Regions from separate parts of the Homo sapiens genome. Here region 2 is linked to region 1. The links are contacts of gene promoters, found by promoter capture Hi-C in blood cells and fetal thymus (Javierre and others, 2016). All regions are on one chromosome and are shown on one strand. The core of a region is centred on a gene start or on the middle of the fragment in contact, and the rest is flanking DNA. Distances in the headings are between cores, read along the strand shown. Region 1 holds the start of MED4-AS1 (MED4 antisense RNA 1). Region 2 overlaps ESD (esterase D).

What was found. The method cuts DNA at HindIII sites, captures the fragments that hold promoters and counts their contacts. A CHiCAGO score of 5 or more calls a contact.
Region 2: a fragment that was not itself captured here is called in contact with the fragment with the promoter of MED4-AS1 in region 1 in 1 of 17 cell types (M1 macrophages); the score reaches 6.4 in M1 macrophages.

What each region holds. Positions count from the first base shown.
Region 1 is chr13:48,075,800-48,082,140 of GRCh38, reverse strand. MED4-AS1 (MED4 antisense RNA 1) reads right to left here and starts at 5,004. Exons shown (of 3, transcript NR_046511.1): 1 at 4,790-5,004; 2 at 4,588-4,699; 3 at 2,148-2,364. It overlaps MED4 (mediator complex subunit 4), which reads left to right. Exons shown (of 7, transcript NM_014166.4): 5 at 410-496; 6 at 2,166-2,297; 7 at 4,830-6,341. The coding sequence ends at 5,002. The HindIII fragment of the contact is 10,244 bases long and covers 780-6,341 here.
Region 2 is chr13:46,772,463-46,779,000 of GRCh38, reverse strand. It overlaps ESD (esterase D), which reads left to right. Exons shown (of 10, transcript NM_001984.2): 9 at 1,378-1,545. Among named protein-coding and RNA genes, the nearest start is that of ESD, 21 kb to the left of the region's middle. The HindIII fragment of the contact is 740 bases long and covers 1,005-1,744 here.

The DNA of each region.
Region 1 (6,341 bases), core at 3,755-6,254:
GAGCCTTAGGGCATATTGATCGAACAGAGTGGTGTGAACTGTCTGCTCTGATTTCATAGCTTGGATGTCTTTGAGAAATGAAACACTGTTTTCTCTATTTTATTTGTGCTCACTATGCTTTCAGAAGAGGAATGGTATTTAACGGTAGTTAATAATTGAGATTATTGAGTGCTATGGTGCTAATCTCCGAAATTTGTTTATGTCAGCTAATTTTTCTGGATTAGTGTCCTGTTTTTGGAGATTTAAGTTTATACTAAACATGTAGGTATTGTTAAGGAAGGCAGGTGACTGAGATTATTTTATTTTCAGATAATTTAAAATTAAATACGATGTGTAACTGATAGATACATTTCTAAACTTGTATGTTTGTTAGACTACAGGTTATACTGTCCTCTTAAAACTCTTTCAGGTGCTATCTCCTCTGAAGAAATAATTAAGTATGCACATAGGATCAGTGCAAGTAATGCTGTATGTGCTCCACTGACCTGGGTTCCAGGTAAACATACTCGTCTTATTATACTAGATATATGTGGTTTTGAAGATTCTTAGGTGACTATGTACAGACATAGATTTAATTTAAAATGTATTTATCCTTAGAAACCTCTGCCACATATTTTCACATCTTTAATGGTTTATAAGTAATGATATAGGCCATGGGTTTTATAAATTTGGTTTTCTGTGAAGCCATTGTTGCTAGGGACTGTGTTTCTTTCGTCTTTTGAAATAATAAATTGATAATTTTTTAAAGTACGAGATAATAATGTGATGCTTCTAAAGCTTTGGATTTATATACCATTTTATCAGGGCTGGCCAGAAGCAAACTCTTTAGAGCCATTAGGATTTCCACAAAGGTTCCAGCCTGAGAAAGACAATTCCAGTTCTCTTAGATGCTAAAGACAAAGCACTACGCACCCAACAGTGAACATACAGGCTTGGAAAGAGCTGGGATAATTAGACAGCAAAAGAGAGGATCAAGCTGCAACTATATTGACAGTGGATGAAACATAAAACAGGAGACGTAAGGTAGCAGCCTTATTGGAGGAAGGGGAAATATTAGTAGTTATCTCCACTTCAAAATAACTTCTGAAGGTGCTGTGTTACCATGCTGAAAGCACTAAGGGTGACTATAATTTTGGGGATGGATAAGCTGCAGTTGGTGAGATGTGCCCAAAAAGTCAATCCAAATCTGGTCAAGTTTTTGTCAACCACATACTGCTATTTAGTGTGCTTTCATGTTTGGGATGGACATTACCTGCTCCTGCTATTTTGCCACTTACACGAATTAGTTTCTGAATTACAAGATCAAAGAGGTTGGTTAGAAAAAGGTTTTATCTTAGACAAGGTGGCATGAGGAAAATAAAAGTAAAACAAAAAGATGAAAAATGTAAAAAAAAAAAAAGATTTTAAATTGAGACAGTCCTTCTATTAAACATTCCAGTCCTTTCTGTCTTATAAGTGTCATGATTTTTTTCTCCCTTGCAGCATAATCATTGTCATTTTCTTGCTAGAAAATACAGTTAAGTTTGAATAATTGAGATTATTATAATTTTCTTAAGTTGTCATCTGGAATGTCTACAAAAAAATGACATCTCTTTTTTTTTAAAGTGTAGAAAATAGTATATTCTTGGGAAGATTCAGAAAAGAAATTAAAATGCGTGTATTTTAAAAAGTAATATGCTATTAATAACAATTTATAAGGTGACTTTTATATTTCTTTCTTTCTTTTTTTTTTTTTTTTTTTTTTGAGACAGGGTCTTGCTCTGTGGCCCAGGCTGGAGTGCAGTGGTGCAATCTCAGCTCACTGCAACCTCTGCCTCCCGGGTTCAAGCGATTCTCCTGCCTCAGCCTCCCGAGTAGCTGGGATTATAGGTGCGTGCCACCACGCCTGACTAATTTTCTTATTTTTAGTAGAGACGGGGTTTCACCATGCTGGCCAGGCTGGTCTTGAACTTCTGACTTGAGGTGATCCACCCACCTCGTCCTCCTAAAGTGCTGGGATTACAGGCGTGAGCCACTGCACCTGGCCAGATGACTTCTGTATTTCAAAATTGAAAATGTAGCCTGAACTTTTCAGCATGAACCAGCGAAAATGAGTATGTCAAATAACATATTAACACTTATTTTTTAAAATATGATTGAATTAAATGCAGTCTTTATTGTTTTAGGGGACCCCCGGAGACCCTACCCAACTGATTTAGAGATGAGAAGTGGGTTACTGGGTCAGATGAACAATCCTTCCACTAATGGCGTGAATGGCCATTTACCAGGAGATGCACTTGCAGCAGGAAGATTGCCAGGTAATGTTAAGCCGAAGAGTGTTTTCAAACAGATCAGGGTTTTCCAGAGATGACAAGGTTGGAATATCTGGCGGTAAAGCAAGTTTGAGATTCCCGACACAATTTTTTTTTTTTTGTAAATTTGAGACAGTCTTGTTATGTCACCCAGGCTGGAGCGTGTTGGCGAAATCTTGGCTCCCAGGTTCAAGTGATTCTTGTGCCTCAGCCTCCCGAGTAGCTGGGATTACAGGTGTGTGCCACCAGGCCTGGCTAATTTTTGTATTTTTAGTGGATATGGGGTTTCGCTCTGTTGGCCAGGCTGGTCTCGAACTCCTGACCCCAAGCAATCACCTGCCTCAGCCTCCCAAAGTACTGGAATTACAGGTGTGAGCCAGTGTGCCTGCCTCTCAGACCCAGTTCATTGTAATAGCTAGATTCTTTGCCGGTTTATTCTGCTCTAAAGATTCTCCTTGAGGGAGGTATGAAATTAGAACAAGCTGCCTTTCTCTTATTTGTAAATATTACACTGTCTTCCTCAGGCATTTGGCCTCTCTTTTTAAATTATTGCTCTAAACATAGCTTTTTTATAATTGTGAAACATGCTATGTAAATAGAGTAAGATAGTTTACGGAATAAAGTGAACACACTCCTGAACAACCCCCAAGTTAACAAAATGAATAACAATAGCTTTTTATAAACTTTTATAACTTTATAAAATAGTATTTCTGTGAGACCCAGTTCATTCTGAGCTTCAGTTTTCCTCAAGTTTTTCATAGGTTTGTGCTATTTTTATATATATTTGTTTTATATTATTCCTCATCTTTTATAGTTTGTAGGTGACTTTTGTTTTGATGTGGTAGAACATTTGGGAAGTAGAAAAAGGCATTTAAAAAAGGAAAAAAATATACCCTTTCTGAGGCAGTCACTTTAAATATTTTAGCCTGTTTCCTTTTTTCCCCTATACATTTTTTGCTTAATGTTACATCATAAGGCTGTCCCTGTGTCATTAATAATGCTTTGTATGCATCATTTTTGTTAGCTACCTAAAGTACAACCAGGGGAACTCAACTGTGATATCCTTGGATATCACCTCATATTTCTCATGTTTTAAAAGTACAGGAAAAACAGATATGGGGAGTCACTGCCACATTTTGGACCAAGGAAGGGACAGACCTAAAAACAGTCTTCCCCAGCTCCATCCCAAGGCCGATACTCTCATATCATGGTGCTGTCATTGGAGAGGGTGCAGTGTAATGTGGCCCACTCCATGGCAGAGAAGTTAGATGAGGCATCAGAGGCCAGAGCTGGCAAGCAGGAAATTACCCACTGGGGTTCCAGGGAGACTTGCTGGGAAGCTGCCCTTTGGGATTCTGGTGAAACCTGCTAGGAAACCACCTTTAGAGGCGCCACCGAAAGTTGCTGTGGTGAACACCACTTAATGTCCTGCACACCAACCAGGCATCACAGCAGTAAAGGAGACAAAACCACCTGATCCAGGAAGTGAAACTTGTTTGCTAGTGGAGTCCCACCTGTGCCCTCTACTGACAAAACTTAATTGTGGCAGCTGGCAAAGGAGAAATGGTTTCAGGGGCCAGAGAGAAGGGTAGATTTGAGGCTAACTGGCATACCTTTCTAGTTAATACCATAACTCTTTCTTTTGACCCTTTAAAAATCTGCCTTCTTTATTTGAGTCTTGAACTATACCTGTTTATGTGCTCTGTCCCTTTGCTTCAGAAATACAGACTTTAAATGTAACTTGGGCCCTTTTTTAAGGTATTTCATATGCATACATTGCTAATCAACCTCTCTTTGATGAGAGTCACTTACAATAGCAGTTCCTCTATCAAGAAATCATTCAAATCTATTATAATACTAAAGTACCTATTACTTGTTTATAATATGTAGAATAATCTACATAACCTAGTATACATAAGTATGTATTATATATGCATATAATAGATACATAGATACAGGAAAAATTTGTAATTACAAATGTCTTACAAAAGAAAAATTATGTCAACTGACTAAATAGTTTCTTACAGAGTAGTATGATTTTTTTAAAAAAGTCCCCAGTTGCTAAAATATCAACTTTTCCTTGATAAATTTGATTTTTATTAATTTGGCTAAATGTGTATTTTTTTCCTAGTCTTAAAAAAATTGGCACAATAGCTTATGCCTGTAATCCCAACACTTTGGGAGGCTGAGGTAGCAGGATAGCTTGAGCCCAGGAGTTGGAGACCAGCCTGGTTAACATAGTGAGACCTCATCTCTACAAAAACTTTAAAAAGTACTCAAGCATGGTGGCACATACCTGTAACCCAGTTACTCAGGAGGCTGAGGCAGGAGGATTGCTTGAGCCTAGGTCAGGGCTTCAGTGATGTATTCGTGCCACTGCACTCAAGCCTGGGTGACAGAATGAGACCCTGTGTCAAAAAAAGAAGAGAAAAAAGTAAAATTAAAAAAAATACTTCAAATTGTTGCATAAAGGGAAAAGTAAGAACTAGATTAATTACAGATAGAGCTGTTCTTATCTATGCTTCTTTTTTTCTCCAGATGTCCTTGCTCCACAGTATCCATGGCAGTCAAATGACATGTCGATGAATATGTTACCACCAAATCATAGTAGTGACTTTTTGTTGGAACCTCCTGGGCATAATAAAGAAAATGAAGATGATGTAGAGATTATGTCAACGGACTCCTCAAGCAGTAGTAGTGAGTCTGATTGAAAAACCTTAAAAGACAATATACAGAATTGAATACTGTAGAATTCTGTTTCTTTAACAGTAGCAGGGAAATGTAAACTACAGGTGACAAAAAATACCCAGGTAAACACTGGCTTTGGTAGAATTGTGCAGTCATTAAAAGTCAAAATTTTTTGACTTTCTTTTTAAAGCCAAAGACCATAGTTTTAGTTTTAAGCCACTAGGTAGATATTTAGGGGAATAGTCAAAATTTACTGTTGAAAAAGCAGTTGCTATGTGCTTTCTTACCCTGTTCTGTTCCAGTTTTGCTGGATTTGTACATAGCCATTCTAGAAATAGAGTTGAGGGAAATTATCCATATACATATCACTAATAGGCTTCTTGGAATTATTTAGAAAAGCATTTTTAAACTGGCAGTGGATGACTGAATAGGCATCATATTTCTTTTTGTGTGTCATTTAAAAGTAACAAAAACTGCCATTTGACAGTAAAGGCTCTTGGCTTCTGTTGGAGGCATGGGAAATTGTCTCAATTTGTACAGTTTGTAATTGTAATTTTTGTAAATAAATTTGTTTGTACATTGTATGCTTTTTTTTTAGTTTAAATATACTGTCAGTGTAGGTAGGAAATTATTTCTGTAAATCCAGTTGCATTTTATAATACTTGAGTGACTAACTGAATTGAAACCTATTACAATTAATAGGGTTCTCAAAGGCCTATTCCTATTAGAAGAAATAATTTTTTTTAATAATTGAAAAAATTTACCACAGCCTTGTCTGATTTTAAGAATAGATTGTGTGAAGATTTAGAATGGAAAGCAACCATTTCTTCCCTTCACCTTCCTCTTCTTACAGTTCCCCAGGAGTCATTTTTAACCACTTTTAATTTCTGTTGGTAACCTCTGTGTTTAGGTAATATGCTTATACAACTATTTCTTGATGTATCAGTTTTAGACAATGTATCTTCTGATTTCAAAGGTAATACAACATTTAATGTGAAACATTTAGTGAATACAGTAAAGGAGAAAATAAAATTGTTAGCATTCTACCCAGAGATAATATCAATTCATATTGTAGTGTAGATTTTTTTAAAGTTCACATACACTTTTTTGTAAAATGAGAATAATGTTTATTTCCTGAGATACTGCTGTATTTTTTAATTGCTAATCTGTATTCTTCAAATGAACTGAGAATTCCATTTTTCCATCATTTTTTCCTTTTGATTATTTTCGATCTCTAGAAAAATTGGAAAATAGGAGATTAATCTTATATTTTCACCATCTAGAATTAAGGACATACAATGTTTGAATGTCTTTCCCTCCAGGGTTATTTTTAGGAATGGACTAACACAATATCTAATTTTA
Region 2 (6,538 bases), core at 125-2,624, 1.3 Mb after region 1:
GTAAAAAATGCAACTTCTTTGTCTTAAAGTATTTAAAGTATAGTTCTGTGTTCAGGGTTCATTCCTACATGAACCCCTATTTTATGTAAGGATGATTATTGAAATTCCAACACATTTTATTTAAGGATGATTACTGAAATTCTAACTAATTAAAGGGTTCATCCTTTAGTAACTAGATTACAGTTTTGTTTAGGCTTGAATTTTTACTATGTTTGAAGAATGCTAGAAATGATTTAGGATTAGGTCCTTTGAGAACTGACATTGCATGTACATCAGTGTTTTGAGTCTTCATCTGGTGCAAAGTCTATGCTAGGTTCTGAGCTGTTTTGTCACGAAAATGGTGACCCTTTCACATCCACCAGGGGCTTATGGTCTAATAGAAGAATTGGGTAAAAGACCAACTAATTGGAGGGTGAAGGTGAGAGGTAGAGGTACAGGTAACCTAAAAAGGAATCTAGATATGTACTTTTCTCCAAGTGACAGTAGATTTTACTGTCTTAATTATGTTGTATTTAGGGTATTATTTAATTTACGATTGAAATCAGGAAACCATGTAGAATTATGAAATCATAGAATTTAGAACTAACTAGTCAGACTTTATAGGTCCTCTCCCACTCTAAGATGAAAGGAAATAGAACCTTCAAAAGCAGGATACTTAGAGGACAAATCTTTTCGTGGTTGTTTGTCTTGGTCAATGTATAAAGTTGTGGTTAATGAATATATATGAATAAGAATATTTCGAGGTGGATGATAAAACATAAAATTGTAACTAGTGGCAGCTCCTCAGAGAATAAATTTGAGATGATGTTGATATGATTCAGATGATTCACACCAGGTGTTTCTGAAAGCTTATGTAGATAGCAGAGGTTTGGTGCTGTTCAACAGCAAAAAAGAAGGCTGAATGTGTTTATGTCTGGAATTACAGCCATAAAGAAGAGACATAAAAAAAAAGATTATCTGAAATAGAGAATATTTGGAAAAAGATCATGGAGTTAGAAGAAGCTTCTAGTTTCCAATTTGTGGAAGGAGTTACAAAGGAAAAAAAATCATGTTCTTGCTGGAGCCAAGAGGAGATTAAGAATATTAAAGGTTTAGAAGGAAAAAGGCCATTTTCTTAAGAATCCCTGAGATATGGGATTCTTGCCACTAGTCTAGGACTGCTTGAAAGTAGGGAAGAGACTATTATTAGAAAATAGAATTCCGAAGACCTTGTAAATAAAAGCCTGGCAAGTCAGATTTTGAACCAACTTAAAAGCATATTTCTGATTTAATCAGCCTAAGAGCTTAAATAACTTTAAATTTCTGTTTGGTACTAGTATAGTATATCCTGAAGAGTATCTTTGAATTTATTTTTCAATGTTACTTCTCTTTTTACAGGCTTATGATGCTACCCACCTTGTGAAATCCTATCCAGGATCTCAGCTGGACATACTAATTGATCAAGGGAAAGATGACCAGTTTCTTTTAGATGGACAGTTACTCCCTGATAACTTCATAGCTGCCTGTACAGAAAAGAAAATCCCCGTTGTTTTTCGATTGCAAGAGGCAAGTATTAGGAAACTTTAGCTTGATCTAGATAATGTAACTATGAAAAATTAGGATTCTGTGATATTTTCTTAACTTTATTTTAGAATATAAAATGCTACTTCTAGTAAGTTTTTAATTATATTCAGACACTTGAAGTGAAAACCTGCCTATAAAATTAATTATATCTAACACTAAATTTGATAGAAATAGGAAAGCTTTTGGCAGTGAAAAATATTGTTTTCCATCAAACCAGTAAATAACAAGATTTTTAATGCTTGAATGATGATTAATCTTCAGCATTAGCAGATACTTCTTTCTTTACACATGGACCTTTGCTGCAGTAGAATAAAAAGGACAAACTTCTACCTAAATTACTCCTTATTTTATGTATATATTTTAGCCTCAGAAGTTAAGTATTATTTATCACACATGTGCTTTATATTATTTGACTTTCATATTAATCTATTCATTGTGCTACTTGATATTTCTAGTTGTTTAAGAATAATTACTGAATCCCAATGGGCTTGCAAGTTTTTTTTAACTAAAATATTTTTGACCGTCCACTACTCACCTAACTCTATATATGCTACCATAGTCCTAATTAAGGAAGTTCTGCTTTTATTTTTAAGAAAAATTCATAAGCTTCAGAATATAATTTAAAATATTTTAGAGTGAAAAATGAGCACTGAAAATTATACATGGTCATGATTTTTAAATAAATTTTTATCCATGTTTAAGGATAATGTGTCAGGCACATTGATCTAAAATGTAATTACGATGGTAAATGTTCAAATCTAGATCAGTGTGTAATGTGGTACATTAGTTTGTAAAATGCTTTCACAGCATTAACTCATTGTTAATTCTTATACCGCCAAATGAGATATCATTTCTTTCCTATCCATCTGTTTTACAAATGAGGAGACAGGCTCAGAGAAGTAACCTACTTATCTAAGGCCACATAGCTAGTAAGTGGTGGAACCAGAACTGGAACTAAGGCCATTTAACTGCAAATACTGACCTCCTGTCATTTATCAAGCCATTTTCAGACGGCATGATATTCTCCTGAGGAGCAAAGGAATGGAATTAGAGCTAGCACAAGGAGAAATTGTGCATAGCTTGCTGCCTACGTAACTTATGCAGAAGATCTGAGCAGTCTTCCTGTTTTTAGGGATATTTTGCACATGTGAACTATATAGTGAGAAAATGTCAAAAACTAATACATGATATACTGTTTGTCTCTTAGTGTCCATCCTTGAGTAATAGAATTTTGTTTTAGATTTATTTGAACATTTACCATCACAATTAAATTTTAGGTCAACAACCAGCCTTGAGAAATCCAAATACCAATTTGACTATAAATATAGTAATACGTTTAACTGCAATAACTATAGCTATAAGTGCGTACCAAACCATGTTTTTTCCAAATGACCTTAATTTCTTGGCACTACCCATGTTGGATACCTCATTTGCTTCCCCAAAGACTGGGCCCAAAATTTCTGTTGTTTCTACAATGATTCTGCCTGCCAACAAAGTCTGAAAATCTCAAGTTTGTTATAAAAACAGCACAGTTAGAACATGATGACATTCCTGGAGGGAAAAATAAGTCCACTTATTTGTTTCTAAAATGCCTGTATCCCAAGCAACTAGAACACATAGTTGGCTATACTTAATGAGGAGTCAAGACAAACCATTCAATTCTTCTAAAAAAGTAAGAAAGTATTCAAAGCACCAGAGTCACAATGTTGAGCTCAGGTGCAATTTTCTATTCACTTTACTTCCAGCATGGTCGGGTTAAGAGTGGACTACATAGCTTGAAGCGGATTTCGTTGAGATTCGTTGTAATTGAATCAACAACTGAATGAGCATGCCTAAGTAGTGGCTCCAGAGAGTCTGCTTTCAGATTTTCTTGCCAGCTTTGACCCAAGATTACCCTGGGTCTGCGAGTTTTATCACCTGCTTTATCATTTGATTACAAGTATAGTATAACTGTATTTCCTTGTGGGATAGAAGCTGTAAAAAATAAGCTGAAAATAATAGGGGATATATATAAATAAACGATCTGAGAAAGAATAAAGAAAATAATTACAATCATGCACATGATTTACTCAACTTCATTCTTTTACCTCTTTTTAATGGTGTTAAATGCTCACAATTTATATTTATACTCTGTCGAATGTCAAAAAAAATTTTTTAGAGAGAGGGGTTAGTGCATCGGGGATATTTATTTGGTTATTATTTTATATAATTTTTTCTTTTTCTATTTTGGCTTCAGGGAATCTAAATTGAAAAAAAAATACTAGGTAGCAGAATTCTGATATCTAGTGTACAGAGATCAAATCTTAGTCTGAAAAAGAAGGGCCTAGTATGTCTTATCTTTAGTTATTGGAGTTACACAGTGAGAAAAAAAAATTTAGTGACCTAATACTGTGAAGAAGTTTCCAGAAATAGTAATCTCTTTTTGTGGAATAGAAGGAGAGGCTATACTACCTCCTTAAGTCTCAGGACCTTTTTGAAGATTGAGAGGCTGTTTTAGCCTCTGCATCTGCCTGCTAGAGAAGAGTAAGAACATGGCAGAGAATCCCAGAAATGTAGAGCTCTCTCATTCATCTCTGTATCCCATGCTTATTTAGCATAGGTATCTAGCACAGAGACTCTCAATACTTGTTAAATGAATACAGTGCAAAGTCTTCCTCCTTATACACTGAAGAGATTTAATAACCTGGGGATTCTTATCCAAGCTTTTCTAATTGGGTCTGGAAAATATATAAGAAAACACTGCCTGTTAGGATAAACATCCATCATAGCTGCTGGAGCACTGCTCCCTTTTTGAGAGCTGAGTGAAGAATGAAAGAATGAAAGGTGTTCATTTATTTTTATACTCCAGGAGTCAAGAGTTTTGCTACCAAGGATTTTCCATTTAAAGTGTGAGGTAGAGGAGAAAAGTCCCCTTCAAGTGTCACTAAACATAGGCATTTGCACAAGCTGCTTAACATATCATACCAACTCATTCATCAAAGAATTTAATTAAAGAAGCCATCCCCATTTAATAAGACTGATAAATAGAAACCCTCGTCAGGGATGATACAATTAGCTCGAATTGTGTAACTTCAGCAGGATACCAATTGTTCAAATGTATTCTATTGCCTTTTTGTTGACATTTTTTAAAATTCTTGGGCCCTCAATGGCAGGCATTTTCTTCTTTCTCATATAGGTGAATCTTTATCATTATGGAACTTATGGTCATTTGTTTTGGATTTTAGATGTCTTGTCTTGCAATATATTCCTGGGTTTACCTTGGGACTTCTCTAATAATAATGATGGCTATTCATATGTGTCTGATGGCTCTTAACACACAAGAAACTAAGGATAAAAATATGGCATACTCAGTCACATTGGAACTTGGTCACACAAGTCTTTTGAGATATCTGTTTCCCTGCATCTGTACCCATTTTCTATCAGATCCATCTTTTGATCTGTGAAAAATGGCAGATAATACTTGGTACATTTTACAGGTTTGGTGGCCTAAAACTCCAGGCCTGTTTAACTTCTTAACAATTCAAGAATTATATGGATGGAAAATGTTTTTCTTTACATTTCTTTCTTTATATAGGAAACTGTAATTTAGCTCTAAATTCAACTAGCCAGCTGGGACTAGTCTAATCATTGAGAGACATGACACCAAGTAATTCCGAGGCTCAGCTTTAATCTTGACAACATTCCTGTCACATTCACTTCCATGATAGAAGACAGATTGCTTTAGAAGACTTAAGTTACCTTGACCTTAAACTAGAACTTTTTATTAACAGCTGTTCCCAAGATAAACATTTAATACCTCTCTGGAAGGGAGAGATTGAGAACATTTACTGATTCATCAAAACCTTGGGGATTTCCTTGTTCTCTGAAGCGTCAGTGATATTTTTATTAGCTCTATTTTTATTTCTTAGGTGCTTAGAAAAATTCCCATCTTTTCCCATCAGTGACCATTCACTAGTTCAAAATGGGAAAAACAAAATCTTTGTTAGACTTTCATTTCTTTCGGTTTATTCAACCTTGTATTTTAATTGTAGATAGGGATAAATTATCTGGTGTTTGATACCCTTAGAAAGTTCTTCCCACCTGGAGTGTAAATTAGTTTAACCATTGTAGAAGATAGTGTGGTGATTCCGCAGACCTAGAGGCAGAAATGCCATTTGACCCAGCAATCCTATTACTAGGTGTATACCCAAAGGAATATAAATCATTCTGTTATAAAGATACAAGCACACATATGTTCACTACAGTACTATTCAATACTATTCAATAGCAAAGACATGGAATCAACCCAAGTACCCATCGGTGATAGACTAAATAAAGAAAATGTGGTACATATGCACCATGGAATACTGTACAGCCATAAAAAGGAATGAGATCATGTCCTTTGCAGGGACATGGATGGAGTTGGAAGCCATTATCCTCAACAAACTAATGCAGGAATAGAAAACCAAACACCAGGCCAGGCGCAGTGGCTCACGCCTGTAATCCCAGCACTTTGGGAGGCTAAGGTGGACGGATCACAAGGTCAGGAGATCGAGACCATCCTGGCTAACATGGCGAAACCCCGTCTCTACTAAAAATACAAAAAATTAGCTGGGCATGGTGGCATGCACCTGTAGTCCCAGCTAGTCGGGAGGCTGAGGCAGGAGAATCGCTTGAACCCGGGATGTGGAGGTTGCAGTGAGCCAAGATCATGCACTCCAGCATGGGTGACAGAGTGAGACTCCGTCTCAAAAAAAAAAAAGACCAAACACCACATGCTCTCACTTATAAGCAGGAGCTGAATGGTGAGAACACATGGATATATGGAGGGGAACAACCCACACTGGGGCCTGCCAAAGGGCGATGGGAGTTGGGGAAAGCATCAGGAAGAACAGCTGATGGATGCTCGGCTTAATACCTAGGTGATGGCTTGATCTGAGCAGCAAACCACCATGGCACACGTTTACTTATGTAACTGCATATCCAGCACATGTAC